Regions from separate parts of the Homo sapiens genome. Here regions 2 and 3 are each linked to region 1. Evidence: promoter capture Hi-C in 16 types of primary human blood cells and fetal thymus (Javierre and others, 2016). All regions are on one chromosome and are shown on one strand. The core of a region is centred on a gene start or on the middle of the fragment in contact, and the rest is flanking DNA. Distances in the headings are between cores, read along the strand shown.

Region 1 (3,839 bases), core at 877-3,376:
GTGGTGGCATATGCCTATAGTCCCAACTACTTGGGAAGCTGAGGCAGGAGAATCACTTGAGCCTGGGAGGCGGAGGTTGCAGTGAGCCAAGATTGTGCCACTGCACTCCAGCCTGGGTGACAGAGCAAGACCCGGTCTCAAAAAAAAAAGAAAAAAAAAAAAAGATTCACAGGCAAGATGCAGTGTGCTACAGAAGCAAGAGGTCACATGGTGTCAGTCACTCTCCAGGGCGTTTGTTCTTCATCTTCCAAAGTATTAGAGACGCAGCATGAGTTTCCACGGAGGTTAAGTGAGAGAGACTGGGAGATGCAGGGGTAGAAAGGAAAGATGAGAAAACGCAGGGTGTCTAAAAGGGTAGGTTTGCTGCTGCAGCTTGCCAGAATGCATCTGCTTTAAAGAGAAGGAGTGAGCCATAAGCTCCCAAACAGTCACCCATCTGTAAAGGTTGGTTAGGGGCACACTCACCTTCCAGGCTAAAGTATTCCTGCTAACTGGGATCGGAGAAAGATGAAGAGGATAAATCCTTGTCATCTCCTAGGACCCTGGAACCTTTGCCCCCTTTCTGGGCACCATAATAACTTGCTTATATTTCTGAGTAGTACAGAGGGGATTTTAAATGAAAATGTATTAGACAGGTTGCTGTTGAGCACATGCCCAAGTTTATTGTCTTGCTAACCAAGATATTATCTTGCTAGCCAAGGTGTTGTCTTGTTAAGGGAACCAGCAAGATGACAAAAGAATGGACCTTTCAAGTCAACGTCTACCCAAGCAGCCTGTTTAAGAAAATGATAAAAAGAAAACAGCTCATTAACATTGTCCTTTTCTTTCTTTTCTTTTCTTTTTTTTTTTTTTTTTTTAATTTTGCGGACCCACCAAAGAATGCAGCCCTTCTTTTCTCATGGTCATAAAAATATCACATTCGGTTGGGCGCGGTGGCTCATGCCTGTAATCTCAGCACTTTGGGAGGCCGAGGCGGGCGGATCACTTGAGGTCAGGAGTTTGAGACCAGCCTGGCCAATATGGTGAAACTCCGTCTCCAACTAAAAATACAAAAATTATCCGGGTGTAGTGTTACACACCTGTAGTCCCAGCTGCTCGGGAGCCTGAGGCACAAGAATCGAGGTGGAGGTTGCAGTGAGCGAGATCGCACCATTGCACCCCAGCCTGGACAACAGAGTGAGACTCCGTCTCAAAAACAAACAAACAAAAACAAACACATCACATTCTTATTAGTCATTTGAGGGAACCTGGAGCAATATGATCTGAGAGGCTAGGCTTGGCTAATCCCTAGAAAAAGTAGTAATACATCTAAGAAAGAAATCCCTCTTAGGGAACACCCGAGGCTGCCAGGTGACACAACAAAACTTTCTCATAAAAGCGTTTGATTAATCCGATTAACTTGTAAGCAAGCCATGTGGCAGAGGTAAGAGGCCAAACACCAAGGCACCAGTCCTGATTCTAAACAAGTGCTGGTCCATTTCTTAACTTTGGGATCCATTTTTTCTTTGTGATGGAATAGCAAAAGGTCAAAGTGGAGGAGGACTCAGCCCTTGGGTGTCTCCTCAACGAGGGTTTCTCGAAGGTAAATTGGGGAGGAAGGGAGAGCCCACGGCAGGTCAGTCCAACCTGCCAGTCACCACCTCTTTAAGGCCACAGCCCTGCGGGAGCAATCCTTTCAAATCCCCTTCCTTCCTTCTTTTAGAACGCCCCTAGAACGCCGATTAGGACTTCTCATCCCGGTCGGGCCTGCGGCTCTCTGTGACCCCACCTCTGGATTCAGCTTTTCCCAGGGATTCACACTCGGAGCTCAGGAGAGATGCTGCGATTACTCTGGAGACGGGAAGACAGGCGGGGCTGACGGGGCCCAAGGCCCCTAATCATGACCGGGGCCAGCTGGCAGGAGGGTCCTAAGTATACGGAGGGCGGCGGGACCCCCCCCACCACGCCCCTCATTTTCCGGGGTAGCGCACAAAGTCTGTGAGGCACTTACCCGAGTCTCGTGGCCGTCCGAGGGGCGCGGGAATCCCAGCTGAGGCCCGTGACGCGCCGGAGCCCTAGGCGTGGGCAGGGCCAGCACCAGCCCTAAGACAGAGAAGACGAGCGGAGCCCGGCTCCGCCAGGAACAGGAAGGCGAGGGAAGGTGAGGATGCGCTTCCGGGGCTGCAGGCGGGGAGCCGCCCCGAGTCCAAGCCGGAGAGAGCTGGTTCTCCCCCTGGCGATACGTGTGTGAGCCTCTGAGGCCCGCCCTAAGCACTGCTGCCCCGATCTAGCAAGACAAGAAGACAGGAAATTTATGACAGCCTGAAAAAGTCTTTAAAAGATACACACTGGAAGAATTTCGTAGTAAGATGAGGAAAAAAAAACGTGTTTCCGCCCGGTTTCGAACCGGGGACCTTTCGCGTGTGAGGCGAACGTGATAACCACTACACTACGGAAACCCACTAAGGGCTTATTTTTCAGAGTAAATAGTTCTTCCTGCCTAGTTCCGTGTTTCTTCGTTCCAAGTGCGTGTTTTGCTGATGTGCGCGTGCGTCTCTGTACCGACCTCTCAAACCAGAAAAACCAATGAAAAGCTCAGACCCAGCCCCTCCAGTGTTCAAACTGAAGCCATAGAATTTATTCTACAAATGACTGAATAGGGAAGAACACAATAGAGACTTTAATTTAATCTCTGAACGGTCCTTCGTTCTTCGGCCAAAATGGCCAGGCAAGGCTGGGCACAACTTGGGTAGGGCGAGCGTTTCTCTGGCGTAGTTGGCGTTACCACGTGGTCAGTGGCAGAATGCTCCGCAAAGAAATGATAACCCCATATGTTGTCGGGAGCTGCCCCTCTTGCTTCTGAGTCTTCCAGGCAAATTTATCTTGCAGGAATTTCCTTACTCCTGCGGAGTCAGAAAGTTGTAAAACGACCCTGCTTACACCGAGCCAGCCAGGAGTCGAACCTGGAATCTTCTGATCCGTAGTCAGACGCGTTATCCATTGCGCCACTGGCCCTGCGCGTACCTTAGGGGCGAGGTATTTCATAAGAAACTAGGTTGTACCCGTAATATCTGGGTGAACGCCTGTAAGCCGCGTTTGCCCGCTGGTCCAGGCTCGCAGCGCATGGACTCTCTGGTAGCTACTTCTGCACACGCCCCGTGGCCTTCATTCCTTTCTCGGTCTGTCTCTGCCGGCTGAAAAATGGCGGTGAAAAGCAAGCCCTGCATCCTCTCTGCCCCAATATCACCGCTCCATTAATGCGTTCGTTCATTCAACCAGTATTAGTGTTCAAGGCACTGCAGATAACGGTGAAGAAAACATGAGAGACCCTTGCCCTCAAGATTACATGGCAGTGGCGGAAGCGGATAATAAAGCATTAAATAAACAAAATAATAGTGATAAGCGATTGGAGAAAAATAATAATAAAACAGGGAAAGAGGATAGGAAAGGCCAGCAGTGAAAGTGATGAATGAGGGATAAATGCTGATATCGGGGAAATGAGTGATCTGGAACAGGGAAAAATCGCTAGGGAAAAGGCCTGGAGGTGGAAGCAGGCTTGGGAGTTATGTTGAGGAGGCCGGTGCTCAGTGGAGAGGAATAGGAGATCCTGGGAGACCACCTCCAGCTTTATAGGCCCTTGTAAGGACTCTGGCCAGCTTTACAGGCTCTTGTAAGGACTCTGGCTGGTATTCTGTAGGAAACTGGAAGCCGTTGTACGGTGACGTGGTCTGAGTTTTCATTTGTCTCTCTGTGGGTCTTTTTTTTTTTTTCTTCAAATATTTTACTAAGCGAAACTGTGCTAGGCCTCCTCACTGCATGCTGCTTCTACTGCAGGGCCTTGATCTCAGAATTTGACAGCT
Region 2 (3,839 bases), core at 791-3,290, 940 kb before region 1:
CTTATTTTTAATAGCTCCTTGTACTTTTTGCATTTAAATTGCTGGCTTTTTATAGTCTCTTGAGTTAGATCATGGATTTTCAATCTTTCTATTGTTGTAATACATGTAGTTAAAAGTAAAAATTGTTCTCTATAAACAGCTTTAGATGCATTAGACAAATTATGATACGTCTTATTTTCATTATCTTTCAGCTTAAAACATTTAAAAATTTATATTGTGTTTTCTTCTTTGACCTGTAGAGTGTAGGACACAAACTGCTTTATTTCCAAACATTCAGAGTCTTCTGGTAGTTTTTCCCGGATACAACAAAGACTGAAGCTTTGTTACAATTTGTCTAGTTTAGTTTTTCCTTGCTGTGAAGGCATAGCCTTACTCCTTTTATGTGGTCCTTACTTTAAAGGTTTATCACTTAGTGCTAAGGGTTAGTATTTCTGAAGTCTCAAAACAACAGCCATTTTACCAATGGGGCTCCAACTGGGAGAGGCATGAACATCAACCTCTGTCTCCCTAGAACCATGCAGCTACTGGATCTCTACAGATCATTAGCCTTCCAGTTGCTCTTTCCTGTACTGGAACATCTTCCTGTGTAGGTACAACTTAGGAATTAGCCAGTAATATAAGGAGAATTTATAATACAAATTTGAGATCTTTCTCTGTGGTTCCCTCATCACTTGAATTTTGACCATCAAGTTCTATGCACGTTGGTAGCCCCAAACTCTGACCAGTATCTCCTTAGTCCAGCACAACTGCCTCTTTCCACATGAGGTCTATTCCACAATGGTGCAATACGGGACACACCTTCAGGAGGAAAGCACTTTCAAATGTGCAAACTCATATAATGTGCTTCCCTTCTCTCAAGGATTGTAGTTTGTCAAGCCTTGCCTGGGTTGACAGCTTATCAGTGCCTTCAAACAGTTGCTTTAAGTCGGGCTTGGTGGCTCACACCTGTAATCCCAGCATTTTGGGAGGCTGAGGCAGGTAGATCACGAGGTCAGGAGTTCAAGACCAGCCTGGCCAACGTGGTGAAACCCTGTCTCTACTCAAAATACACGCCTGCAATCCCAGCTACTCGGGAGGCTGAGCCAGGAGAATGGCTCGAACTCAGGAGGCAGAGGTTGTGGTGAGCCAAGATTGCGCCATTGCACAGCAGCTTGGGCGATAGAGCGAGACTCTGTCTCAAAAAAAAAAAAAAGCCAGAAACAAACAAACAAACAAAACAATTGCTTTATAGTTCTTATCCACGATGAATCATTTTTCTTCTAGATTAAAAAAGAAATAATAGATTAAAAGGAAGTAATAGAGACAAACGAGATTCAATGTTAGGTGAAAAGGATGAGGCATCAATCACTCTACTGTTCAATAGTGTTAACGAAAAAAAGAATCCATTGGCTGAAAGTGTTGCACAATAATATTAACTTTTAAATTTGATGGCCAAAATTTCATGACAAAAATGTTAATAATAATTATTTTTCTTTTTTTTTTTTTTGGAGACAGAGTCTTGCTCTGTCGCCCAGGCTGGAGTGCAATGCTGCAATCTTGGTTCACTGCAACCTCCGCCTCCCGGGTTCAAGTGATTCTCCTGCCTCAGCCTCCGAGTAGCTGGGATTACAGGTGCCCGCCACCACACCCAGCTAATTTTTGTATTTTTAGTAGAGATGGGGTTTCAGCAGGTTGGCCAGGCTGGTATCGAACTCCAGACCTCAGGTGATCCACCCGCCTCAGCCTCCCAAAGTGCTTGGATTAGAGGCATGAGCCACCTCGCCTGGCCAATAAGTATTTTTAAAACAAAATCAGACATATTGTTATATGCTGGAAGAGTATTCTTTCATTAAAGAAGCAATGCTGTTGGCTTTGATTATGGCTCACAAAAATATTGCTTTTAATATTCATCCATTCAGCGTTGGTCGAGGGTATATACTAGGTACACTTCTAATTCCTACCTTATTATAAAGGAGCTTAGAATGATTTGGATTTCGCCATACCTTTCCATTTTATATTGTCGTTGCTGTTTTGAAATTTAGTACCATTTGTTTTCATATTCCAACATGTAATCATTACGAAACAATGTTGTTTCAGGCATTCACTCTTTATGTAGCTTTTGTCACATGTTATGAATTTTCTTGCTCACTTATAACATTTTGAATCCCACTCCTTCATCAGTTCTAAATTCCTATTCATTAATGTAGTCGTCACTCTTGTCATATGCATTGTTCAAAATTGTATATTTGCCCTTTTACATTTTAATTCGTATATTTTCATTTATAGTTTTATTAGGCTTTTCTCCTTTTAACTTTCCATTCTGAAATTATTTTAGACTGACAGACACAGTACATGAATAATACAGATAATTCCTGAGCACCCTTCACCCCAATTCCCTCAATATTAGCACATTAAGGATATTCCTATATTTTCTTTTCCTTCTCTCTCTCATATATATACATAAATGTATATTTCTGAACTATTTGACAGTGAGTTTGAAGACACATACCTCCCCTTACCCTTAAATACGTATTTTGTAAATAGGTGTGAATTTTCTTAAAGACATTTTGTTCTATAACCATAGAACAATTAATACAATCAGGAATTCACATTCATAATATTATAAAATCTATAGACTTTATTGAGATTTCACCAACTATTTCAATAATGTCCTTTAAGATAAAAATTCCAGACCATATGTTGCTGTCATATCTTTAAGATCTTCTATAATGTGGACTATTTAGTCAGCCTTTCTTTGTGTTCTGTAACTTTGTTATTTTATTTATTTGTTTATTTATTTATTTATTTATTTATTTATTTTTCCTCCCTGCTTGCCTGTTACTAGGTTGATGCAAAAGTAATTGCAGTTTTTGAGGCGTACAAGTCAGTTATTTTGTTAAAATCTCCCTCAATATGGGTTTGTCTGATGTTTTCTGATTTAGATTACATATTTTTGCCAAGAATACCACAAAAGTGACGTTGTGCTCTCATGAGCACATCCTGTAAAAAAGGTATATAATGTAGATTCGTCCCAATACTGATTCAATCACTTGGGTAAGATGGTATCTACCCGGTTTCTCCACTGTGATGGAGATTACAGTGCAGAGTGGAAATTTTCTTGCTATTACAGAACCTCATGATTTCTACAGCTTATGGTTTTTGCGATCAGTATTTCGTTGGTTTGAAAGAACTCTGCTAAAGAAAAAGAGAACCCAACATTTGCCCAGAAGACTAGAGACTGTGTTTACCGGAAGTGTGCTTTTCTAAAAAAAAGTTTAAGCCTCCTCCCCGTCGGGGAATCGAACCCCGGTCTCCCGCGTGACAGGCGGGGATACTCACCACTATACTAACGAGGAATTGACGTGAAAATGGAGCTCTTAGGAAATCCCTGTGAAGTTACTCGCTATTGTCCATCTTTCTTTGCTCTGTAGTCACACGTTTCCCCTACCAAATATACGCAAGGCAATTCAGCGAACGTGTCTCCGCCCAACCGCGAATCCTCTCCAGTTCCTCCTTCATTCCTCGGACGCTTTGTCAGACCCTTTTAAAAAAGAACTCTCGCTAGCCTCCTTTGTGACGCACTGGTTTCCGTCTATGTTCAACCATGGTTGGAGCCCTAGCTAACATAGGAGTTACAAATCCCGAAAGGTGCATCGGTTGGTTTCAAAGACAGGAAAAGCAGAGGTGGGACCAATACCTGCGCTCCGTTGAGGTAAAATAGATAAAGAGTCTGCAGATGTATTTTTAAAGTTCAGGATGCGTCAAGTGGCACGCAGAAGCTTTATCACGAGTTCCCTCGCCCCCAAACTGAAAGCAAATATGACATCGTATTTCCTCTCTGAAGTAAATACGATTCCTCT
Region 3 (3,839 bases), core at 922-3,421, 520 kb after region 1:
TCTCCGGAAATGTACCCTTTACGGGAATTTCTGAAACCTTTCACAAGAATTGGATTCCTTTGTAATGCTTTAATTGACTTAGGAGTGTTATTGAAATCTACAAAGCATCTCAAACATAGTAGGATTACACTATTACTCAGAAACATTTTCTATGAGACGTCTTTCTCTTGATTATGCTCTTTGAATCCTAAACTTGCAGCGTTCTGCAGCTTTTGTTTTCTAAAGCCTAGGTGTACTCTGCCAGTCACAAAATGGCGTTTCTCCAGCACTGCCGCCAGGTACCACCAGCTGGGAGTTGTTCCTCTTGCGGAGCAGGAGGTGGACTTGGCCCAAGAGAAACTGGATAGTGGTTCGCAAGGAACATAATTTAGCATTGCCAAGAGCTAATGCAATCATTTTGAAAATCTCAAAACACTGAAAAGTGGATTGTGACCTTTTTAAATTCACAAGAGACAGGCCACATTCTATCTTTTGATTGGTTTAGGCTATTTTCTTGAACAGCCATTTAGAAAGCAGATCTATCATCCTTCATTTGCATGGAGCGTTCCCATTTTATTTGAAACCAGTTTAACCCAATAGAAAAAAGGGAGGCAGAACCCATTATTTAAAGTGGAAACTCCTGAATCAGATAATTAGGAGTATTTCCTTTTCAAAAGTTGCGTTTTTTCAGATACCTCGCTTATTACACTAAGAAAGGTTTATATCTTTCACAAAGGGTTTACTTACAAAAATCTTCCAATTTTGTATACCTGTGTTTCATAACTGACTAGCCGTCAAACCAAGATGTAGAGTTTCCAACCGTTATTTTCCAAATTTTTAGAAATTACGTGAAATATTTGAATGCATGCCTTCTCAATAAAATGGGACGTAGGAAGCACTGGTGCAGAAGATGGGTACAATACTTATCTGGGACCACTCCATTATTTGGTTGGCACGTTGTTTGAACAAAAAGGGGAAAAGCTCAGGTTACTTAGCATGGTTCGGACTTATTTGAAAACTACCACAGCAGGAGCGGAAATAAGACCGCATTACCTCACTCTCTGCTGTGCTGTGCTAGGGGGTTATCCAGAATAGGATTGTAGAAGTGGATGTCGATTTAATAGTTTTTTATTCTCCCATTAGCTGAGTCTCTGATTGGCAATGTGAGATCGTTTTAGCTTATTGATACTTTGAAATGCACTTAACAGCCACAAACAAGTTAAAGGGTTGTTACCATAAAATCTTATCCCCAGGGTGTGCTTGCATTTATCACCCGTGTTTGCTTTCACACTAAGTGGACTTAACTCCCCAGCAGAATGCCTGTCAGGGAACCGGTTTCGTGGACCCAGCATTTAACGCCTTTCGCAGGCTTGTGAGGCCCATAAATATTTGTTGAATAAAAGAATGAGTTGACCATGTCATGGTGCGCTGATTGCGTGTGCTGACATGGAACACAGGTTGTAAACCTTAATACCAATTTGGGGCATGTTGTATGGATGAAAAGGGCATTGGAAATTCCTGAAGTGCATCCCACATTGGACTGTGGAAATAAGTTGCAAGTGCAGAAACGTTTCCACACTTGCAGTTTGAGTATTAATTGCAGCGTTTGTGAATTCTGGTGTTGTCTACGATTCATTCTTGTTTGACGTGAAAGGTATTCGCGAGACACATCGCTCTAAAACATTGCCAGAAAATGTAATAGAGTTGATGACAACTGGCCCTAACACGGCCTAAAACTCGCACTTTTCTCTCCCTCCGCAACTATTCAAAACACTGTATTTTACATTTCTTGCAAATTAAAAACTAACATCTCTGGCAACGGACCTCTAAAAATTTCTAATAAAACTCCTCGGATGCTTGTGGCACTGCATTTGTAAACCGCCCCCTCTCAACCTACTCCCTAAAAAAGAGCTGCTTTTTGAGAGAGAAGCGGTACCCTCTGATGTTACTGGGCGGCAGTCTGCCTACAATTTCCTTCACAATGAGGCAACCAGAGCGGCTTTTTCTGTGTGTTTGCTTGCGTTGAGGGGAGCAGGACCATAGGCCCTAGAGGCCCCCAGCTGCCTTCTGAGACTGGGCGAAACCCTCGGCAGCGCGCAGGGGGCGCTAGGGCGCGAGGGGCGGGCACTGACGGGCACCAATCACGGCGCAGTCCCACCCTATAAATAGGCTGCGTTGGGGCCTTTTTTTCGCATCCTGCTTCGTCAGGTTTATACCACTTTATTTGGTGTGCTGTGTTAGTCACCATGTCTGAAACAGTGCCTCCCGCCCCCGCCGCTTCTGCTGCTCCTGAGAAACCTTTAGCTGGCAAGAAGGCAAAGAAACCTGCTAAGGCTGCAGCAGCCTCCAAGAAAAAACCCGCTGGCCCTTCCGTGTCAGAGCTGATCGTGCAGGCTGCTTCCTCCTCTAAGGAGCGTGGTGGTGTGTCGTTGGCAGCTCTTAAAAAGGCGCTGGCGGCCGCAGGCTACGACGTGGAGAAGAACAACAGCCGCATTAAGCTGGGCATTAAGAGCCTGGTAAGCAAGGGAACGTTGGTGCAGACAAAGGGTACCGGAGCCTCGGGTTCCTTCAAGCTCAACAAGAAGGCGTCCTCCGTGGAAACCAAGCCCGGCGCCTCAAAGGTGGCTACAAAAACTAAGGCAACGGGTGCATCTAAAAAGCTCAAAAAGGCCACGGGGGCTAGCAAAAAGAGCGTCAAGACTCCGAAAAAGGCTAAAAAGCCTGCGGCAACAAGGAAATCCTCCAAGAATCCAAAAAAACCCAAAACTGTAAAGCCCAAGAAAGTAGCTAAAAGCCCTGCTAAAGCTAAGGCTGTAAAACCCAAGGCGGCCAAGGCTAGGGTGACGAAGCCAAAGACTGCCAAACCCAAGAAAGCGGCACCCAAGAAAAAGTAAATTCAGTTAGAAGTTTCTTCTAGTAACCCAACGGCTCTTTTAAGAGCCACCTACGCATTTCAGGAAAAGAGCTGTAGTACACAGATGAAATCCCCCAAGCAAATGCAACACGCCCTCAATTATATTAGAATCACTTGGAGAGTCGATAGAACTTTAACATAGCCTCATCTAGTAAGAATTTACTACTCAATCTATCAAAGATAGCAAGGTGAATTCAAATGCACCGAGTTAAAATCGAGTTTTAAAGTCACCTGGGTTTCGGTAGCCGGAAGTCCCGCGTCTCACGACTCCAAGCTAATTAGTCATAACCGTATTGAACCAAGGTTGAAGCCCAGTCCCAGGCTTGAGGCTTTTTATTATACAAGGTTAAAGTGGGGATATTGCGTTTTGGGGTCAATATTGCTAAAGTAGCATTTTCCGAAATTGGGTGGTCCTAAGAAATGCTTCTGGGATAGTTGGCAAAATATATGGCTTAACCACGCCCTCTCCACAGGAGTGGCTAGCGAGCTGTCTGTCCTTGGGAAGGACGGTGACCCTGCTGGCGTGGCTGGCGCCCACGTTGGCGTCCTCTGAAAGCCCCGCCAGGTAGGCCTAGCTCGCTTGCTTTCTGCAGCGCCATCATGACAAAGCTTTGAAACGCAAAATGCTTTCTTTGTGCAGCGCCTTACCATGGGTGCACTTACGGGCTGTCGACTTGGTTTAGGCCCTTGTCAGGACAAAGGAGCTTAGTTTGTTGGAGTTTTAGAGCTGCAACCCAAAATCCCTTGCTCGGTTTCTCTGTTTTTAGAAACGGAAGCGCCCTGATTGGATATTTGAAAATTACTGTGCTTAACTGGATCGTGTTTCATCAGTCGTGCAGGATTTTCAACCCTGGTGGAGCCCACACATTCAAAACTGAAGATCCTTTTCTCAGAACTGCCCCTTTAAGCTTTTGCAATTTTAATTCTGGGGGTCAGATTTTAATAA

The links. The method cuts DNA at HindIII sites, captures the fragments that hold promoters and counts their contacts. A CHiCAGO score of 5 or more calls a contact.
Region 2: a contact is called between a fragment that was not itself captured here and the fragment with the promoter of HMGN4 in region 1, in 2 of 17 cell types (fetal thymus and activated CD4 T cells). The highest score is 5.8, in fetal thymus.
Region 3: a contact is called between the fragment with the promoter of H1-1 here and the fragment with the promoter of HMGN4 in region 1, in 1 of 17 cell types (neutrophils). The highest score is 5.3, in neutrophils.

The regions. Positions count from the first base shown.
Region 1 is chr6:26,536,653-26,540,491 of GRCh38, reverse strand. HMGN4 (high mobility group nucleosomal binding domain 4) reads right to left here and starts at 2,126. Exons shown (of 2, transcript NM_006353.3): 1 at 1,991-2,126. It overlaps TRR-ACG1-2 (tRNA-Arg (anticodon ACG) 1-2), which reads right to left and starts at 2,994; the gene lies at 2,922-2,994. It overlaps TRV-CAC1-6 (tRNA-Val (anticodon CAC) 1-6), which reads right to left and starts at 2,438; the gene lies at 2,366-2,438. RefSeq lists enhancers at 1,506-1,915, 3,176-3,839 and silencers at 2,406-2,455, 2,849-3,142. The HindIII fragment of the contact is 7,010 bases long and covers 1-3,839 here.
Region 2 is chr6:27,479,170-27,483,008 of GRCh38, reverse strand. TRD-GTC2-6 (tRNA-Asp (anticodon GTC) 2-6) reads right to left here and starts at 3,335; the gene lies at 3,264-3,335. RefSeq lists a silencer at 3,223-3,282. The HindIII fragment of the contact is 3,440 bases long and covers 321-3,760 here.
Region 3 is chr6:26,016,119-26,019,957 of GRCh38, reverse strand. H1-1 (H1.1 linker histone, cluster member) reads left to right here and starts at 2,171. Exons shown (of 1, transcript NM_005325.4): 1 at 2,171-2,926. The coding sequence starts at 2,226. The coding sequence ends at 2,873. It also overlaps the pseudogene H3P26. RefSeq lists an enhancer at 2,979-3,839. The HindIII fragment of the contact is 5,921 bases long and covers 1-3,504 here.